Regions from separate parts of the Homo sapiens genome. Here region 1 is linked to region 2. Evidence: promoter capture Hi-C in 16 types of primary human blood cells and fetal thymus (Javierre and others, 2016). All regions are on one chromosome and are shown on one strand. The core of a region is centred on a gene start or on the middle of the fragment in contact, and the rest is flanking DNA. Distances in the headings are between cores, read along the strand shown.

The links. The method cuts DNA at HindIII sites, captures the fragments that hold promoters and counts their contacts. A CHiCAGO score of 5 or more calls a contact.
Region 1: a contact is called between a fragment that was not itself captured here and the fragment with the promoter of P4HB in region 2, in 3 of 17 cell types (erythroblasts, naive CD4 T cells and activated CD4 T cells). The highest score is 5.6, in erythroblasts.

What each region holds. Positions count from the first base shown.
Region 1 is chr17:81,669,864-81,673,465 of GRCh38, reverse strand. CCDC137 (coiled-coil domain containing 137) reads right to left here. Exons shown (of 6, transcript NM_199287.3): 3 at 3,013-3,241; 4 at 1,640-1,722; 5 at 1,311-1,390; 6 at 1-971. The coding sequence ends at 762. Among named protein-coding and RNA genes, the nearest start is that of CCDC137, 4.9 kb to the right of the region's middle. The HindIII fragment of the contact is 162 bases long and covers 2,152-2,313 here.
Region 2 is chr17:81,858,509-81,862,234 of GRCh38, reverse strand. It overlaps P4HB (prolyl 4-hydroxylase subunit beta), which reads left to right and starts at 1,700. Exons shown (of 11, transcript NM_000918.4): 1 at 1,700-1,908; 2 at 2,848-3,054. The coding sequence starts at 1,764. LOC124904086 (a long non-coding RNA gene) reads right to left here and starts at 1,125. Exons shown (of 2, transcript XR_007065950.1): 1 at 1,096-1,125. RefSeq lists silencers at 1,580-1,799, 2,010-2,109. The HindIII fragment of the contact is 26,352 bases long and covers 1-3,726 here.

The DNA of each region.
Region 1 (3,602 bases), core at 983-3,482, 190 kb after region 2:
TGGGCCTCCCGGCTCTCTCAGAGCCCTGTTAGGTAGGTGACAACTCTGTTCCCACTGTTTTTTTTTTCTTCGTGTATTTTTAGTAGAGATGCAGTTTCACCATGTTGGCCAGGCTGGTTCGAACTCCTGACCTCAGGTGATCCACTCGCCTCAGCTGCCCAAAGTGCTGGCATTACAGGTGTGAGCCACCGCGCCCGGCCCCCGGTTCCCACCTTCTTAAGTGTATGTGTTGTCATCATGTTTCACCCCAACCAAACCTTGGGTGGGCAGCCTCTGTAGGGGACCACTCACAGCTGGCCTGTAGTCACGGTCCCCTGCAGAGCCCTGTCCCGATGCGTCGTCCCTGCCCGTGGCCTGCTCTGCCTGATGTGCACTGTACGCTCGGCTCTGCTGACTCCCGGGGGCCTCCGTCACACACTGAGCCAGCCTCATCAGCTGTCTCGGTATTTGGTGTTCAGGGACAGGGATCCAGCCCTTCCTAAGGTCCACCTGGGCTGAGACTCAGAATGGACGTTCAAAACAAAGAGATGGAGCTGTGAGTGACACCGGGCCCCACGGGCCGTCTGTCAACCAGGCCTTGGCCCTAGTCCATCGGGCACTCACCCCCTGCAAGATGTGGACCCACTAGTGCCCAACGTGTGAACAAGTAGCTGGAGGCCTCACCCCACACTGCTGGCATGGCCTGCCTCTCTCCTACCCAGGTGTAGCAGCTCCTGGTGCCAGTTGCCCCAGAGCGTGGCCAGGCCCCGGGTGTCTCTCCATCACAGCTGCGGCTCTGGCTTCTTCCGGGAAGTGAGGTGGGGTCGCTCCCCGTGCAGCTGCTGCTGCCGCTGCTTCAACGCTCTGTAGGCCTGCACGGCCCGCTCTCTCTCCTCCTCCACAATCCGCTGGCGGGCCAGGGAGGCGGTCAGAGGCTGGGACACACCACCGGGGCTCAGAAGCATCCGCAGCATCTGCGATCTCCTGCCAGGCTGAGGGAGAGAGGGGAGGGTGAGGCACAGGCTGGGAAAGGAGGGGATGCAACAGAAAGCCTCACAGCTTCAACAGCTCTCCCGCCAGCGAGAACACTGCACTCTCAGGCCACACACCAGACAGCGCACACGTTGGCTGAGGGTTTTTTTTTTTCTTGACACAGGATCTCGCTATGTTGTCCAGGCTGGTATCAACTCCTGGGCTCAAGCAATCCGCCTGCCTTGGCCTCCCAATGTGCTGGGATTACAGGTGTGACCCACCGTGTCCAGCCTGTCCAAGGCTTCTGTTCCCTGGCAGCACTGGGGGACAAACTCAAGTTGTCCCCGTGCCCCACTTACCTGGTCCTTGCTTACGCTCCTCTGGGGCCTGGCAGTCAGCTCTGGGGGCTGCAGGACAACCTCACCAAACTTCACCGTGTCTGGAGGAGCAGAATACAACTGAGGACTGCTGCCCACAGCCACTGCACCCCTGACACCCAGAGCCACCACCCGCCCACCTCCCTCCCATAGGGCTGGGACAGAACACCAACTCATCCAGTGGTCTAATGGCTGTGGACCCCAGGGGAAACCACAGGTGCCCAGTGCAGCCAGGGCTGGTGGGGAACAGAAGGCCTGCGCCCAGGCCCCACCCGGACCACTGCTGACACCATCGCTTTGGGAAGAGCTACCTCGGAGCAACTCCTGCTCCAGCCTGTCTGCCGCCTTTTCCTCCTTTTTCCGTCGGACTTTATCTAGTCGCCGCTTCTGGAACCTGGGGAAGAAAGCACATGTCACTCAGATTCCTAAATTCTCTTTCCACCCAGGGAGGAGGCAGAGGCCGCCCCACCCACAAGGGATCCCCTGTGGCAGAGCAGGGACCCAAGAACAGGTGGCTGCCTCCAAGTCCCCGCTCCCCTTACCACCCCAAAACCCACAGCTGCCCACCAAAGAAGGCTCTGACCCCAACAGGCCCCTCACAGGTCCCCCAGTGGTTCTCAGCTGGGGACAGCTACCTGCCAGGGAACATCTGACAATGTGTGCAGACACGTGGGCAAGGGCTACTGGCACCTTGTGCACGAAGGCTGGGAAGGCTGCCAAAGACCACCCAACAGAGACTCATCCAGCCCATCCGGTGCTGCTGTGTCTAAAGGGCCTAACAAGCATTGTATATCACGTCTCCCTCAATGTGAATCTGGAAGCTTCACCTTCAGCGACAGCTCTGGAGATCACCGTGGCGCCAGGCTGTATCTGGGCCACGTTCTCTGTGATGAACTTTCACTGGCTAAGGTAACTATAAGTAATACAACAATCCAGAAACAGGGAATCTACAGAGCTGAAAGCAACCTCTCAAACCTTCAAAGCTTTTTTTTTTTTTTCTTTTTTTTGAGATGGAGTCTCGCTCTGTCACCAGGCTGGAGTGCAGCGGCACGATCTCAGCTCACTGCAACCTCTGCCTCCCGGATTCAAGCGATTCCACTGCCTCAGGCTCCCAAGTATCTGGAATTACAGGCATGCACCACCACGCCCGGCTAATTTTTTTTTTTGTATTTTATTAGAGACAAGGTTTCACCGTGTTGGCTAGGATGGTCTCGATCTCCTGACCTCGTGATCCACCTGCCTCAGCCTCCCAAAGTGCTGGGATTACAGGCGTGAGCCACTGTACTCGGCCAAAGCTTTTAGAGAATTAGGAAGGTGTAGTCTCTTGGACGAGAGACATTCTGTTCTAATGGAAACAGAACCCCTGGGCACGTCACCCTCAGACCGACCCCCTCAGGGCTGATTCCCACAGGGCTAGGGCTTTCTGGTGCTTTTCCTGTGAAAGCAAGGACCAAGCGAGGTCTCCGCAGAGTTCCCAGGTTCCGCAGCCTCCTGGAGGCCACACCCTCACTGGCTCCCAGCTGGATGCTCCGACTCGCCAACTCCCAGGGCTCTGGCTTGGTCTCCCTGAATCCAGGCTGCCCCATGGCTATGAAACAGGGTACCTGCAGAGGGCCGTCATGGGAACCCAATGTCTTCCCTCCGGCTCCCAGGGCAGACCCCTCCCCCTCCCGCCTCCACTCACGCTTTTTTTGCTTTTTTCTGCTCAGACTTCTCCTTGGGAGCTGCCTGCACCTCTGGCTGCCGGATGGCCTGGTTCTTGCTGAGGAACAGCACATGCTGGGCCTCTTGCTGCATGCGGTGGATATAGGCCCCGTCAGACTCCCCCTTCCTCTGTTTGAACTTGGGGACTGCGATGTCGGGCTCCTCTCCCTTTGCTTCCTTCTCCAATGTCTTTCTGAAGGTCACCTGGGCTGAGGACAAAGGGAGGCCTCAGAGGAGGCAGGAGGCAGACAGTGGCAGGCAGGTGACCCATGCTCATTTCCCCTCCCAAAGCCACAGGAAGGGAAGACCAGGCTGGCTGGAAGCACCCCAACGACAGCAGCTGAAGAGGATGTAGAATGCCCGGCCCGGCATCCCCGGGGACGTGACCCCCCAGCCCAATGGCACCTGTCACAGATGTCCACTGCAGCACAGCTGAAAAAGGAAAGCAGAAACAACCTAATGTCCACCCCTAGGTGGCTGGTTGAATGAATTCTCCTCTGATCACCCACAGACTCCATTGCACAGCTGCCGAAAGAAGCCCAGTGGAGCTACACAGAGAAACGTGGGCAG
Region 2 (3,726 bases), core at 451-2,950:
CCTCCTGCCTCGGTCTCCAAAAGTGGTGGGATTACAGGAGTGAGCCACACAGCACCTGGCCTCAATATTATTATGTAATCCAACATATGCATACAGAATATTTCAACATGTAGTAGTCAATGTAAAGTTATTAACGAAATACTGTACCTTCTGTCCTCCAGCCCCTACACGCACACTTTTTTTTTTTTTTTTTTGAGATGGAGTCTCGCTCTGTTGCCCAGGCTGGAGTGCAATGGCGCGATCTCGGCTCACTGCAACCTCTGCCTCCTGGGTTCAAGCGATTCTCTTGCCTCAGCCTCCCGAGTAGCTGGGATTACAGGCGCGCGCCACCAGGCCCTGTTAATTTTTGTATTTTTAGTAGAGACGGGAGGTGAGGGGGTTTCACCATGTTGATCAGGCTGGTCTCGAACTCCTGACCTCGTGATCCGCCCGCCTCGGCCTTCCAAAGTGCTGGGATTACAGGCGTGAGCCACCGCACTCGGCCCCGCACACTCAGTCTTAGAAGTTTGATGTGCATTGCGCACTCACAGCCCGTCTCAGGTGGACTGGCCATATTTCAAGTGCTCAGGAGCCTCGGTGGCGGGTCGAGTCGGGAGGCAAACCCAGCTGCTGCCTTCGGAGTGAAGCAGCGCCCAGGGTATTTCCACAGCTGTGTAACAGCTGCGAGGTCTCCTGAGCCGACCAGAGCATCTGAGAAGCACCAGAGAAGGGGCAGCGTCACAGGATTTGGCAACCCGTGGGAAAGGAAGGAAGAGATCGCACAGGGCAAAGGGCCGCTCCCTGAAGGCCTTAGCGGGGAGTACCTTTCCTGCGGCCGCTCCACGCATGAGCAGCGTCTTCCTGGGGCCTGGGAGCCGGCAGGTCCCCGGGGCCCAGGTCCCGCCCCTCCCGCCCGTCTCTCCAGCCCCATTCTCCTAACCACCCGCCCTGTGCTCGTATCCCCTCCGAGGCTTCCTCGCACTGTGCGCACGATTCCCATGCCCAGGCCCTGCCGCCATGCCTCGGTGAGTGTCTCGCGTGACCTCGCGGAGCGCGTCGGACCGGGCCGGCTATCCCACACCGAGCCCACCGCCGACCCTAGGCGGCCAACCCCACCTTCCACGGCCGCCGCCGCACGCTTGACACGCGCGCCGGAAATTGCGTCACCCCAACTTCCGGTCCGGGGGCCGGGGGGCGTGCCAGTTGGGTACGCGGTCCAGTCAGAATGCAACACGAGGGGTTTCGGAAGCGCAGCCGCAGCTCCGCCCCTAAACTGGGAACTCCTCCCCACTGCCACGTTCGACGAAGGAACGCGCAGAGTGCGCGCATCCCTTGGCCAATCAGGAGGCGCAGAGTCCGTGCTACCGAAAGGGGCAGCCATTCCAGACCCGTGGAAGGTGCAGGCGAAAGCCACCAATTAGAAGCCAAGGCAGAAAAAGTTCTTGTCGGGAGCCAATGAGAGGCTAAGAAAGACAGCGAGCGCGAGGTCCTCGGCCAATCCCGAACGAAGGCCAGGGAGCACTCAGGAGCGTTTCCGAATCCGGGGCCAGGCCTGGTGTGAGTGTCCAATCCGAGAGCGGCAAAGACGAGCCTCGAAGTCCGCCGGCCAATCGAAGGCGGGCCCCAGCGGCGCGTGCGCGCCGCGGCCAGCGCGCGCGGGCGGGGGGGCAGGCGCGCCCCGGACCCAGGATTTATAAAGGCGAGGCCGGGACCGGCGCGCGCTCTCGTCGCCCCCGCTGTCCCGGCGGCGCCAACCGAAGCGCCCCGCCTGATCCGTGTCCGACATGCTGCGCCGCGCTCTGCTGTGCCTGGCCGTGGCCGCCCTGGTGCGCGCCGACGCCCCCGAGGAGGAGGACCACGTCCTGGTGCTGCGGAAAAGCAACTTCGCGGAGGCGCTGGCGGCCCACAAGTACCTGCTGGTGGAGTTCTGTGAGCGCCGGGCCTGGCGGGCGGGCGGGGCTCGGGGCCGCTGAGCCAGGCTCTTGGGACGCAGGCACGGCCCGGCAGCCCCCGGGGTCGGGACCCCCGGCGCGCCCGGAACTGAAGGGCTCCCTTGCTGCCCGCCTTGGGGGCCATGTCAGGGGCTCCCTGGGGGTGAGAGCCGGGCTGGGAGCCGGGGGGCCGTCCCGATGCCCGCCCTGCGCACGGCAGGATCTTCCTGTTAGTGCGAGAAGAACAGGATCGACCTGTGTGAGCAAACAGAGCAAGCCAGTGTCCAGCCTTGCCGAGTCCTCCCCGGGGGCCGACCCGGAAGGCGCCCCGCTCCTGCCCACCCCACCTTCAGCTTGCCACAGCAGTCCTTCCGATGGTGTCTCAGAGGAGAATCCCAAGCCTTCCTCACGTCCATAAGGATTTGAGCTCTGTCCCTGGGGTGGGAACCTTGTGCCTGACACAGCTGCTAACTCTATTGACAGATCGTCTTATTCTCACCCTAAGCAACTCAGGGTCTGTGTGCACGGATGTGCATCTCATACTCACAGCTAGTGCTGGTACAGGCCGCCACGGTCACTTCTTCACTTTTGTCTGTAGTCTTAAAGGGAAAGTCTAGGGGAGATCCTTGCCTTAGTTGCCTGTGGGGAATAAGAAGTCAGCAACCATTGAAAGGTTTGTCTGGCTGTGCTGATGGTGACATAGCAGAGTGGGGGCTGGTGTTGGTTGGTGGTAGTTTGTCGTTCACGGCCTCTGTCCTGATATTGCCCAAGAACACCAGGCTATCAGCTCAGCCTTGTGCGTTAGGAGGGGTTATCTTGGTGAGTAGATAAGGTTTTTATGAAGGGAAATGCCAGAGGAAAAAGGGAAGCACTGCTGAGGGATCAAGGCTGCTTTAGGGATCAAGGCTGCTTTCTAGCATCTCATTTCCGCTTCCAGATGCCCCTTGGTGTGGCCACTGCAAGGCTCTGGCCCCTGAGTATGCCAAAGCCGCTGGGAAGCTGAAGGCAGAAGGTTCCGAGATCAGGTTGGCCAAGGTGGACGCCACGGAGGAGTCTGACCTGGCCCAGCAGTACGGCGTGCGCGGCTATCCCACCATCAAGTTCTTCAGGAATGGAGACACGGCTTCCCCCAAGGAATATACAGGTGTGGCTGTGGCACTGCCCTTGAACTGTCTTTAGAGAGGGACTGGCCTGCCGACTTGGAAGGGCAGGGGCAGCTGTCTGAGCGGTGGGGAGGCCGGGTTCCAGAGGCTTGGAGGGATCCCGTTCCTCAGGCCGGGTTCTCTGTCCACTTGTGCCCTGAGGGTCTTGTGAGGAGTTTTCATCCTGGAAGAACCTTCGAATGGAGAACCTGTCTTGTCTGGTGCCATCCTGGGGGCGGCTGGCTGAGGTCTGTTTGGAGACTGACCAGCGAGGAGAGGGAGACTGGTGCCTTTCTGGCCACATGGGCTGTTTGTGCTGCCCCCTGTTCCTAGGAGCAGCAGCATGGCTGTAGCTCTCGGGGTGACACCTGCTAGCTGTCGTGTGTAGCGTGCCAGCTGCCGCGTCACGTGCTTGCGTGATTTCTCCTCGCATCCTCTCTGTGAGGCGGGCTTTTCCCAGACAAAGGGCTGAGGCTTAGAGCAGCTGAGTAACAGCATCGAGCCTGTCGGTAGCAGACCTCGAATCCAAGCCCGCCCTGCTCCGTCTGTAGCACGGGCCCTCAGCTGCTCGTCTGCCGCCTCTGAAGCTGCCGTAGTGGAGGCCGAGCCCCTGTGTAGCCAGATCAGTGACGGTGGCAAAAGAAAACTCGTCTATAAAACCGGTTCTGTGGCAT